2 separate regions of the Homo sapiens genome follow, and region 2 is linked to region 1. The links are contacts of gene promoters, found by promoter capture Hi-C in human tissues and cell types (Jung and others, 2019). All regions are on one chromosome and are shown on one strand. Each heading gives the region's core, a stretch centred on a gene start or on the middle of the fragment in contact. The rest is flanking DNA. Distances are from core to core; before and after follow the strand shown. Region 1 holds the start of STXBP6 (syntaxin binding protein 6). Region 2 has its middle 160 kb from the start of GZMB.

Region 1 (6,707 bases), core at 194-2,693:
AGACGAACAGCAGCTCACAGCCTCGGCTGAAGCTCCTCCACCCCCAGGGTGGCTCTGACTAGGGCGCAGCTCTGACTAGTGTGCAGGCAAAACCCCAAAACTCAAAACAAGAAGTGAAAAAAGTGGAGCCAGGAAAAATTCGTCGGCATCCTCCACAGCCTTACAATCCGCACAATGCCAGTTCCAGGGTCCTGGGGTCGCCCGGAAGGCAATCTTAGGAGAGGGTGGAATGAGATGGAAGTTCCTGCGGACCTACCGATCCTATTCTCTCCCACCCAGTCCCTAGGGAAGCGTAATAGGAAGGGGAGAAGGTTCGTTATGAAATCCTGGGGCCAGAACCAAGGGCAGATACACCCCGGGGACTTTCTCCTAAAGAACAAGATGTCTTTCCAAATTCTCCACCTGCAGGTCCTGTCCTCTGTGAAGATGAACGGGGTGGGGTGGTGAGGTGGCGGGGTGTTGTAAACCTGAGGAAAGGTTGGAGGGAAAATCAAGCCACCCACCTACTCCAGCCACGTTGCCCGGCGGTGTTGGTGAGGCTCGATGCCGGCGTGCACGGCAAGCGCGAATTCGGAACCTGGCGCCCTTGACCAAGCCTGAGATCGGAAAGGGGGCATCGCCCAGGGCCAGCGCCCTGGGGGCAGGGTGCCGTGCCCGCCAGAAAAGCTCGCCTCAGTTTTGGCAGTAATGATTTTCCTAGAAGATGCCAGAGTTCGCGAAGATCGGAGTGATTCGCGGATTTCTGCGCTCAAGCTAGAGGCGCAGCGACCCCGAGCTCCCCCACACTGGGAGCCTCGGGGCAGCATTCTCGGGGCCCATGCCATCGCGGGGACGGTGCGGAAAAAAAGGCTCCATCCTCAACTTTCTCGGAGGAAATCGCTCCGTTCTGCGGCTTGCCCAATACTGCCCGCACAACGGGTCCCAGGGTTGGAGAGAACCAGGGACACGAGTCCCTCTCTGCGCGCACAAAGCAGCTGCGCCGGGGCGCGCGGCCCCCTCTCCCGCCACCCGCCAACTTGGAAGAATCTCTCTGGGAGCCTGCCTACTCCCCTGGCCTCACAGCCACCCGCCTCGGACGGAGCGCCAGGCGCCCCAACAGCCGTGGCGGCTGCAACCGCATCTCCCGGGCTTGGCCTCCGCCCTGACCGCCTGGCTCCCCTCGCCCCGGTCCTACCGTGCAGCCTGGCTCGCGCCCCTGCCGTGCCAGTGCGCGGCACGCGTCCCAGAGCACGAGGCTCCTCCCCGGGGGGCTGCCCCGCGCGGGGCTCCGGGCTCCGGACAAGGCTTAGCCGGCCCGGGTGCTGGCTCGCCGCCGCTCGCGGCTCCCGCGCCGGCTCCTGCTGCCGCGCGCGAAAAGGGAGGGGTTGGGGGGAAACTCCCGGCAACTCCAACTCCGGGCGCTGGAGCTCCAGCTGCAGCCGCGCGCCCGCCCGCCGCCGAGTGCGAGCGCCTGCGAAGCAAACCTGCCCGCGCGGCCGCCTCTGAGCATGCTCAGTGCCGCCGTGGGCGAGCCCGAGCGCCCTGGCCCGGGGCAAAGAGCAGCGGCTAGGGGCTGGGGGCTGGGGGCCGGGACCCGCGACCCGCCCCAGGCCTCGGAGCGCGGAGGTGGCAGAGGAAGGGAAAGGCCAATGTAGGGGCGGGGGCCCTGAGCCAAAGACCCGGGAGAAACCGATCTGGGTGCAAGAGCCGGTGCGACTTTCACGGCTTGTGGGAAGTTTGTGGGCTAGAAAGGTGGGCTGCTTCTGTGAGCTTCTCTGTGAGACTATATTCGAAAGGACAACCAGGAAACATTTTTTTTTTTCTCTAGGAAAAAACGAATAGACCCAGCCGATGGGTTTTTATCCTGTGCGCTCCTTCCTTTATTCTTACGATAGCAAACTCAAAGATCTAATGGGGCCTGACAGGCACTGTAACTGGGGGAAGGCGAACTGGAGAGAGCTCCGAAGGCAGGGCCGCTTATCTGCTCTCAGGGTCCCTTGCTATCGGGCAAGAATTAGACCTAGTGTTGCTAGATTTTCTGATTTTTCCAGAAATGACGGAGTATATTCATGTACAATATCCTGATTTGTAAAATCTTGATAACAAATTCAATTTTCTCAAAACACCCTGGACTAAACAAAACATATCTGCGTCCCCTCCCTGCTGAACCCCCCAGACAGTGATTTGAGCATTGTGATTCTGCACTCTTTTAGCGAAGTGGTGCTGAGTGCTCACTGTGGTTTGGGAAAGTGCTGGAAAGGATCCAAGATGATTCAGAATATCTTCGAAGTACTACTAGTTACTAGGGGAAATGGGTTTTCCTGACAGTAGAGCGCTACACTTAAATGCTGGAGCGTTCAAGAAGAAAGACGTTACTAATGTAGAAAGCGGTTGTAAGAACTAACTTTTGGGAAACATCATTAGTAAAAGTATCTGTGTGGGGAGTCACTGCAGGGCCGATAACAGTGCCCCGGAAGGCACTTTTGAGCCTGAAGCAATAGGAAAAACCCCTAAACTTACCCTGTCTTTATTTAAAATTTTGTTATTTTTCATCATGCATTTTTGATATTAATTTTGATTTTTTTAAATATTCCATTAAAATATTAACCTTGATTACTGAATTCTTTGGTGAACCTTTAAGTGCTGTGACTCACCTCACCCTAGCCTGGCCCTGTTGGGGTGTTAGATGGTGGTACACAGACCTGCTTGTTTGGAGTGCAAGGGGTAAGCATTAGCATAGTGAAATAGGAAAGAGGGTTTGAGCTGTGGATGGGGGCTCAGGCAGAAGTCCTGACTGTCAGTCTGTGGCTCCTGCACTTAGTTTGTAGACTACGTGGAGATAGCAGAGATGCTGGGGGAGGAGACAATCCGAACTGAATTCTGTGAAGATGGACAGGGCAGCAGACCCAGGAAGATGGTTTGGAGGGGAAGAATGGGAGAAACGGGGATACCTAGGATATCATAAAACTGATACCCTAGGTATCCCCATTTGGTAGCTACAGTTTTATGAAAATCAGAGAAAATTGCCTGAAAAAGTAAGTTTCTTTTGCTCTGCCTATCTCTGTAGAGACATGTCATGGGGCTACCTTAGTGCCAATGAGTAGTGTGCCGGGGTCCTGGTCTTAACCTCAGCCATTTCCCTACCAGGCTTCCATGGGCAAGTGGCTCAACCTCTAAGCTTCACTTTCCTCATCTGTGGAAGGGAAAACAATTCTCATGGCGTTTTTGTGAGAATCCAAAGAAATGTATGTCTAAGGGCTTTGAAAATGTTGAGAGTTCTTACCTACAAGTCATCTATGTAAAATTTGAATTGAAATAAGGGCCTTTTTGCTTGACAAAAGCTCTAAGTAGCAAGCTTCTTTAATTTAGCAAGCCTTTCTAATGTGTTGGGATGATATTTACAAAACTTTGGAATCAGCTTTTGGGTAACTCAATAATTTTGTGAAGTAAGATACTACTGTACTAGCTTCTATTGCCAGTCATCTCCCTCTACTACCTTCCTTTTTTATCTTCACTTGCCTCTTTTTGTTCTCAATATTGCAGATCTAGTCAAGAGGACTCTCTCCCTCTGTACAAAGTGTTCTCTAACTCATGTACCGGTCATCACGGTAGTGTCTGCCTCAAACACCTGGGACCTACCTTAGTGTGGGAGGTGATTCTCCCTGCAGGTAACCTAATTTGTTGCTGCATTCATGGAGAACAAACCACTGCTTATCTATGGGAAGCATTTTAAGCATGCAGACCTCTCAAAGAAAACAAAAACAAAAACAAAAACAAAAAAGACCGTGGATGTTTAAACAAGAAGCCTTCCAGAAGTCATGTAAAGGAGGAAGTACCTAGCCCAGGATCTGTCACATAACAAGTAGTTACAAATATTTGCAGAATAAATAGCAATTTCCATCGTCAAAGTCTTCTGCATCTGTTTCACCTCCCACAGTGCCTAGGATTTTTTTTTTTTTTTAATCACAATAATGGTAAGGTCATAAAGAAGAACAAGAAGAACAGGAACTAAACATTTATGCAGGGAGAGGTTCTGTACTTTAACAAGTGAAATGCTTTGCTTACATTTTAAATTGTATTTTTAATTCTTGTTAGCAAATAATACATGGTATTTAAAAAAAGTTCAGTGCACAAAAGCTCAGTACAAGGAAAAGCAAGTTTCCCTTCTCAAGAAAGACTAATGTTGCCTGTTTCTTGCATATAGTTATAGAAATACCCTATGCACGTGAGAGCAAGCATAGTCATTTTCTTTTCCATAAAATCTAATCACAAAATGATAGAACTGAAAAAGACCTTATGGTTCATCTAGATGTTAAGTTAGAGGCTTTTAAATTGCTATTCTGGGAAAGAAAAGGAAAACCTAAAAGCGATCTTCCCTGTTTCATAAGTAAGCTCATGATTGTAAGGATGCCAGATCACGTGGCAAAACCCTCCATGTGAACATTAATCACATTAAGTGATACAAGGGAAAACTGAGTTCACCTAAAGTTGCCCTGAAACCCATAATGCCCACTGTCGACCTCAACCTAAAACACCCATGGATATAGATGTCTTAGGTTCCCTACGGCTGTTGAAGGAAGTGCTGTCTAAATAACAAATGGAATAAATTGACATGGACACAGAGGGCTTGATCTGGAATTGGGTATTATAATGTGACTATTTTGAACAGCATCTCTTATGCATCATCAATCACAGTATGTCTTCAAGACTAGTAAAGTCTATATTTAAAATTTTTTTTTCTGCTACATGGTGTAGCAAGTAGCTTTTCAAATTCTTCATTCTGATGATGTAATTTCAGATAAGACATTTAGGAAGTCATCAGCTTATTAACTTTTGGGTTGAACCATATGAAACTGCCATTTTTGTTGGTCATAGTTTCTAAAATATTGGAAATTTCAAATGTTCCATCTTCATTATATTCCTCAAAGTTAGTCCTTGTTCTAGAGCTGTAAGAGGACTTCCTTTAAGTTTTTTAGAATATCACATTTTCCTGCAAGAGCTATGTCACTAAGCTAGTTCCAAAAAACCTATTTAATGTTTGTGGTTTGTAATGGTACCAGATTCACATCTGGTCCTAGGAACTGAGCCTATTCTGTTCAACAGGGTCAAGAAAAAGAAATAAATTTCTCTTCCTCTTTTGAGGGGTATAGCACCGGCCTTTCTGGGCCTTGAAATAGGTGAAAATAATAATTATTTTCCTTTCTGCTCTTTTTGCACCTTACTTCTCCAATATTCTCCTGAAATCCTTTTTCCTGTACCTATTGTCCTCATTCTGTCTGGCCTTTTTCTATCTCAATCAGCTTGTCTTTGCTCTTTATTCTTAACAATCAGCATTCATTTAGTATGCTGCAAGTTGGAACTAAGTAAAATAACTTGATTAAATGAATTCACAGTCGTGTGCAAGACTATCTGCCGTTCCAAAGACATATGCAATTTTAAGAGTATCTTGTAGTTGCAAATGAACATTTCCATAAGAAAATTTTGGAGTTTGAAAAATGACTAGAGAAAGAATCCTGGTAGTGAGGGGCAGAAATAATATATTGAGGAGCAGGAACATTTGGTTCAGTTCCCCATTTTTATACATTTTGTAATTTCTTCTCACCCTTTTACTTTAAAAATATGGATTCTTTTAAAGTTTAGGATTTCATTTTGACTTTCACAATGGCTGTCTTGCCAGTAGCAGTGAGCACCTCCAGACTAGGGAGAGGTCTGCGCCTACTGTATGTATGTGCCATTTGTAAATTGGGAATGAAATGTGTCGCTTCTGGTAACATCGGTATGATGGGATCTGGGAGACCTTCGGAATTCAGATGGGCTTATGGAGCTTATATTTGGGACCCTATTCTGTTTCCTATACAATTACCCTTGGTCTGTGGTTTTATCCTTTAAGGGTTCTAGCTGTCTATAACTGGAGTCCACCTTCTTTTTTGACTGAGGTGACATGGTCCACATTTTATCTCTAATTTACTAAACATATAGTTCCTTCTCTGCTCTGCTTTTAAGAGTCAAGATAAATATTGACTGCTGATATCAAATTTGGTGAGCTTTGGCCCACTATCATTCACTATAAGATGGAACATTTCTGAGATATGTGGCAAACTGTGGTTCTCATTTCTTCCTTCTCACCTTTATCGGTTTTCCACTGTTCTCCAAGCTTCTTTCCAGTTTTCTAATTATATTACTTTATTCCTGAAACTGCATCAGCTTTCATATGCCAGTGTTTATAAGTAAGACATAGATTAGAAGGAGAGATAGTTCTTTGGAAAAAAACAAAAGAAAGCAGTTTTTTCTTGCAAAAGATGTGGTTACATCCTGAACTTGGTTGCTCTGTAATCATTTTATATTTCTTAGCAACACCCTTTCAATCAGATTATTAGTTCCTTGAGTGCCGAGAACAAGTCTTAAGGATCTTTGATTACCTCACCAAACACCTAGCACAGAGGAAAGAGACAATCAACAAATAACAGTTACAACTTGTTATCATTCAGGTGAGTCACTGGGGACAGGAGACAAATAGTTCATTTTAGAGATAAGGAATCTGATATTTAGAACACACATATAAATGTAAAATTGCATCTGTGATAAGTTACACAATCAAAAGGTACATTGCGTTATTAAAAGTGCGTAGTAAGGTTGGGCGCAGTGGTTCACGCCTATAATCCCAGCACTTTGGGAGGCCAAGGTGGGTGGATCACCTGAAGTCAGGAGTTCAAGACCAGCCCGAGCAA
Region 2 (6,666 bases), core at 4,046-6,545, 260 kb before region 1:
AAACTCTGAATGGGCCACCTCAGCTCTAACCTCTCTCGGGATTGGTTGAGGACTTTGGACTGTATTACAGCTCAATTACTCCTTCACTCCAATCCTGTGTCCTTTCCCTCCCAAGAGCATTTCTTAATAAATCTCTATGTGCTAATACCCTTTTTAGAATCTGTTTCTTAATGAAACCAACCTGCAATGTCCTTCTCTCCCGAGATAATTCTTACTCATCCTTTAAGAACTCAGCTCAGAGGTCCCCACCTCTGGAACCTCCCCCAGCCATGTCGCATTCCCAATCTCCTCTTCCATTCTCAGTTAGTTTTCCTTTGATGGTGTTTCCATAACATCCTGTATATGCTTCCATCACCTCTGTCATAGCAATTCTCACTCTCTTTTAATAGTCATCTACATATGTGGCTTTCTCCTGCACTGAACTGTATGCTTTTTGTGTTGCCCAACTGATCATCCCAGGGACAGAAGAAAGAGCACCAAAGTGTGCTTCAGAAATCTGAATTTTGGTCTGAGCTCTTCTAGTAGTTTTCTATATGTCCTTGCCTCTTCATGTGTCAATTTGCATAACAGTAAAATGGAAATGGTAATCTCCATCTTTTTTTCTTTACTCAGTGAGTTTAAAATCTATCATTATAGCTGTGGTTTGGGAAACCCCAGGCAGTACTCCCTCAGAGATGCTTAAATATACTCTCCACTTAACCATGTCCACCTATTCAGTCTTCCACAGGGTGAACGTAAGAGCTAGCTGCCTGCAAGGAGACCAGTGCAGAATAGGAGTTTTGGTTCTCAGGCCGGGAATATACTAATGTGAACATAGCCCCAGGAATTTCTGGGGCAGCCTCAATTTAATTTTTTAATCAAGATAATTATTTAACCATATTTAAATATAATTAACATTTATGCATTTATAGCACTTTGCATATGAGCAACTTCCTAAGCCATGAAAAGAAATCCTTTATTAGGGCATGTGACCCAGTTCAGGTTTGGGAAATCATTATTCTATATAAATTCTAAATCAAAGTAGTAAATTGGCATTGTGATTTATATAAATGCCTCTTATGAGTTTGATTAGCTGAATCAATTCCCCAGATTCCTGGTCATACCTATGAAATGAAATTTAGTTGCCAAAATTTGAAATCTGAGGCTCTGACTTCTTGGAGTGCTCAGCAGTGTAAAGCCACTTCCTAAGGCCCAGCTTAAAATAATAATATGTAGGGACAATTTATCGAGCTCCTAGGATGGGTAGGCTTTGTTCTGGCCACTTTGCAGTTATTGCTTTAATCTTAAAAATGACCCTACAGGGTACCTTGTCCCTTTTGTACAGATGAAGAAGCTGGGGATCACAGCCAGGGATGTGCTACAGCCTGCTTACATGGGTTATGAGAGCCAATAGTACCAGTCTCTTCCCAACTTTGCATTCTGCGACATCACATTGGTAGCTTGAAATCAGCTATGGTGGGAGTATTTGCATCACAGAAATTGGCACATGTTACAAATGAGGGCTTTATTTATATATTTTGGGATCTTTGTGTTTAGCCATTTACCAGAATAACACAGCTTACAGCTAATAACCAGGCCAAGACTCAAACTAAGGTCTGTCAGTCTCCAAATTCTTGCCTGTCCTCCTGTGTTGGAAGAAGCTAGAGGCTGAGTTTCAGAGCCCGGTACTTTCTTAAGACTCTGCAGCTCTCTGCCCAGAGTCCCCACTCCCTGCCCCACCTTCCCCAACTAAATTCTGCTAACTCAAAATAGGAAGCAAAGTTCAGCCAAGGGCCATCCCCTTTATTCAGTTTCAACTCTTGCCAAAAAAAAGTCAAAAGATGAAGCTGTTAGAGAAAAACCAAAAAAAGACAAAGACAACTTGGCTTCTGTTTGTTCAGTATCCGTGAATAAATGCAAAGGAGGAACTGAATAAACCATTAGTTCCCAAATGCTTTCAGGAGCCCCACTGGAGAGCTCTTTTACTTGGCAGTGAGGAGAAGGACCCCATGGAAGCCTTAATTGGCACCATCTAATTACAGGAGATGGAGTAAATCTGTGGTCCAAGTGTCCATCTGCTTCTCATTTCCAATCAGTTAGCACGCATTAAAAGTGAATACAACATAAACTCAGGACAACCTCAGTGATGCATTACATTTCCAAGACAAGAGTAAGGCGAGAAATGAACTTCAAGGAAAATAACAGCAGAATGGGCCAAGTGCCCTACTAAAATCTGGCATGGACTAGAGTCAGACATTGAGAAAATGGCCTTTAACAAATAATTTAGTTTTTAATGACCCTGGACTCCCCACTGGCTATGATGACATTATCAATCCTCAGGCAATGTTTAATAGCCTTGCATATTCATTTTGCACATATTTTATAGTCCTTTTCTTTCTATATTTGTTTCATTTTTGGTTTTTAATTGTTAATCCTTTGGGGACAGAGATAATATCTATGAAGCCTATATGGAATGGCTGTATTTACCCAATGCCTGTACTCCTGTTTTATCTAGAAAGTAAATAACATGCTTTTGATTTTACAGGCTCATAGGTAGAAAAGACTTGCCCTATCTCAGATGATACTTTGGACTTTGGACTTTTGAGTTAATGCTGAAATGAGTTAAGACTTTGGGGGACTGTTGGCAAGGCTTGATTGGTTTTGAAGTGTGAGCGCATGAGATTTGGGAAGAGTCAGGGGCAGAATAATACGGTTTGGCTCTGTGTCCCCACCCAAATCTCATCTTGAATTGTACTCCCATAATTCCCACTTTTGTAGGAGGGACCTGGTGGGAAGTAATTGAATCAGGGGGGTGGTTTCTCCCCTACTATTCTCGTGGCAGTGAATATGTCTCATAAGATCTGATAGTTTGAGAAGGGAAAACCTATTTTGCTTGGTTCTCATTCTCTCTCTTGCCACTGCCATGTAAGAAGTGCCTTTCACCTTCCGCCATGATTGTGAAGCCTCCCTAGCCATGTGGAACTGTAAGTCCATTAAACCTCTTTTTCTTCCCAGTCTCAGGTATGTCTTTATCAGCAACGTGTAAATGAACTAATACAACTAATATCAAAAAATTAAAAGATAAGAAGTGTTGGCAAGGAAGTGGAGAAAAAAAGAACACTTACACACTGCTGCTGGGAATATGAATTAGTGTAGCCACTATGGAAAACAGTGTGGCGGTTCCTCAAAAAGTTAAAACTAGAACTACCATATGATCCAGCAATTCCACTACTGGGTATATATTCAAAGGAAATTAAATTAGTATGTCAAACATATATTTGCACTTTTATGTTTATTCTAGCATTATTCACAATAGCCAAGATATGGAATCAACCTAAATGTCCATCAGTGGATTAATGGATAAAGAAAATGTAGTATATATACAAAATGAAATATTATTCAGTCATAGATAAAATCCTGTTATTTGTGGCAACATGGATAAACCTGGAGAATATTATGTTAAGTGAAATAAGCCCAGCACAGAGAGACAAATACCACATGATCTCACTCATATATGGAGGCTACAAAGTTGTTCTCATAGAAGTAGAGAGCAGAATCATGGTTACCAGAGGATGGGGAGGGTAGGGGGAAAAGGGGGATTGTTTCAGATTGGTCAATGGGTACAAAGCTACAGTTAGATAAGAAGAATACGTTTGGGTGCTCTATTGTATAGTAGGATGATTAGAGTTAATAATAATACATTGTATATTTCAAAATTGCTAGAAGAGAGGTTTTTGAATGTCCTCTTCACAAGGCAACGATAAATGTTTAAAGTGATGGATATACTTATTACCCTGACTTGATAATTACACAATTTATACATGTATTGAAACATCATGTTGTACCCCATTAGTATGTGCGATGATTTTGTATCAATCATAAATTTAAAAAATGAAAAAAAAATTGAAGGGATTGCACTAAAGCACCAGAAGGTCTAACCTTCTATAGTTCTAAGAAAAACTGCAGGAGAGAGCCAGGATGTGGGAGCTGTCCTTCCCAGTGGGTCTCAGGGACACATTTTTGATGGTGGTGGTGGGAAACAGAACCACTACTTATGTCAAGAGACTTTAAGCCAATTAAAACTAAGCTCCTTTTAAAATTTTTTCGAGTACTAAGGAGATTTTTAGGTGGTCTAGCTCTCTTGGAATACAAACTACAAACTATTTTCTTTGGCTGCTCTTTACCTCTTATAAGTCAATGAGAGGATTAATGGTAAAAGGCTTTATTTCTGATCTTTGGAGGACAAGGGAAAGCTAAACAGGAGAACTAGATCAATATAGCATTGTTTCTTCTCAAAAGGACTTAGAATCATTGGGCATTAAATATGGGAGCCCTCAGCATCACCTGGGCCAAGTTTCATAGTTTATAGTCAGAAGTACTAAGGGTCACTCAAACCACTAGTTAGAGGGAGCATAGGGTTTAGAATCCAGCTGCTTTTTTGCAGGATTCTAAACTCTTCTGTGTAGAAAGAGGAGTACATTCTTGGGTCTGTGAAAACTAAAATTTGAAATACCACTTCTGCTTTTAGGGTAAACAACTTTGGGAGTATCTGCCTTGCTCAAGAATTAATTCTTCTCCCCTTTTCCCACAGAGTTGCAGTATGGCACTGTGGTGAGAAGTGGGACAACCATCTTAGCCAACCTGATGATGAGCTCCCCTGGGGATTGGGAATCAGGACTAAGTAATTCCAGCTTAGCCGGGGCTTCTCTCTAACCCTACAGCTATGCTAGGGCTATCTTCCATCAGCTGTGTGGGCTAACTGATCCAGAAGGATGGTCTTCAGGAGAATAAGAGATGGGAGATGGAAAGGGAGCACTCTGTGGCTTCAGGGACTTTCCATAACCTGGGCCAGTCCAGCTGTCCTGCCCAGTTCTGGGCCTGACCCACTGGGCAGGACAGCTCCCACCATCTTGGCTCTGCTACCTTCCATCTCTAGAGTCTATGACACACCTGCATGTTAATATGTAGCACCCTCCTACTCTCCAGCCCCTTAAGCTAGTTTGAATTGAATTGTTGCTGTTACATGAAACTAACAATTTTAACTAACATGGTTCCTTCTTATCTTAGAAGAGTCATCTTCAGGACTTGAACACATTTATTTCCACTTACTTTAATGGATGCTCTATCATATTCTTTTCAACTCTTTGAGAAGGCGTTCTTCTCTCCCATCCAATCAGTTGCTAAGTCAGGACAGTTTTCTTTCATAGAGACTCTCAAATCTATCATTCTTATCCATATCTAATGCCATTAAATTTTGGACCTTATTTCTTCATGTTGGTCATTTGCAATAATCTCCCAATTGGTTGGCTTGACTCTCATCTCTCATTTTTCATCCATTATCCCTTCAAATCTAATCCTAAAGCTTGCCTTGATCATGCCCTGCCTAAGTACTAAACTGTCTTTAGAATTCTGCCTGCCACAAGCAGGGCTATGTACGGGATTACTCACCTAAGCAACGTGGAAGAGATCAGAGGTACAAATTCAGGCATGTGTAGTGTGATGGACTGATGCACGGTCTGTGACTTGAGTTCAAGGCAGCAGCAGGGCCAAAGCTGAAGACAACAAGGAGACTTCTGCTGTGTATGTTTATGGGGTGGGAAAAGCAGTGTGAGAAAGGAGAGTAGTGAGTGGGGACCATGCCACAGGGGAAGGTGGTGGTGAGTGGTTTGTTACTGTACCAGCCTTAGGAACAAAGGGCCAGATGTGTCTAGAAAGAATATTTCCTTTCTTGGAGCAGCCAGAGCTCCCAGTCACTTTCCCACCCCAAATACTCAGGAGCTTCCCCTTTCGCTTCAGTGTGGCATTTAAAGCCTTACTTTTACAGACTCACACTTACATTCCAGGCTTATTATTATTATTATTATTTTACAAATCCTTCTGATGCATCTTCTGCTAAAGTTTTAGTAGAACTGGTATTTAGTGAAATCGGTACTATAGTGAAAAGATTGACGCCAGCCAATTGTTTCCAAAGAAGTGTCAGGGATGGTGCTGTCACCTTGGTGAGTGTTCAGTGATCTGGGGTCTGTCTGCAGTCTTCAGGCTTGGAAATTTGATTTTGTCAGCAGGTCAAATGCAGGGCCCCTTCCTGGGGTAGTGCTCTAATGGATGCTAATATTTTCTGTCTGTGTTTTCTTTGCTGAATGGTCTGATCTTTGTCTTCTCCACTTGCTGATCTCTGTTTACTGTGGGCTTTCCAGCCTCTTAACTTTGGCTCAGAAAGTACTCCTTCCTGAGCCCTCAGCAGTTCTATACTTTTCCAATAGTTGAAGCAGAACCAGCTACATAATTTGTGGAATTCAGTGCAAAATGACGGGCTCTTGTTTAAACACGTTTAATTATTTCAAGATGGTGACTGCAGAGTATGAAAGGGAACATGGGGTCCTGGGTCACTGCACTGGTTAATGCTCATAAAGCCAGCCCTCCTTTGTAAGATCTCTCCATTTCTCCCCATTCTCACTCCTTTTCACATCCACATAGTGAATTCTCAAAAATTGATTTTGAATGACAACGAAGGATATCAGATATACTGAAATGATACGGAGCTCTTAAAGGCTCTCTAAATCCATACACATTGCATTAAGAGAAAGCCTTTGGATTAATGCACGTTATAAAAATGATAACAGGAGTGTATGGCACTTTAAGTAGAAAACGACAATGGAATATTGGAAGAGTCATCCAGTCTTTGAA

Evidence for each region. The method cuts DNA at HindIII sites, captures the fragments that hold promoters and counts their contacts. A contact is called where the count stands out against the background at its distance.
Region 2: a fragment that was not itself captured here is called in contact with the fragment with the promoter of STXBP6 in region 1 in 1 of the 25 tissues and cell types used here (dorsolateral prefrontal cortex).

Annotation. Positions count from the first base shown.
Region 1 is chr14:25,048,704-25,055,410 of GRCh38, forward strand. STXBP6 (syntaxin binding protein 6) reads right to left here and starts at 1,444. Exons shown (of 6, transcript NM_001394410.1): 1 at 1,175-1,444. It overlaps LOC124903295 (a long non-coding RNA gene), which reads left to right and starts at 1,641. Exons shown (of 2, transcript XR_007064091.1): 1 at 1,641-1,731; 2 at 3,523-3,887. The HindIII fragment of the contact is 10,437 bases long and covers 1-4,733 here.
Region 2 is chr14:24,787,727-24,794,392 of GRCh38, forward strand. No RefSeq gene overlaps it. Among named protein-coding and RNA genes, the nearest start is that of GZMB, 160 kb to the left of the region's middle. The HindIII fragment of the contact is 8,433 bases long and covers 1,080-6,666 here.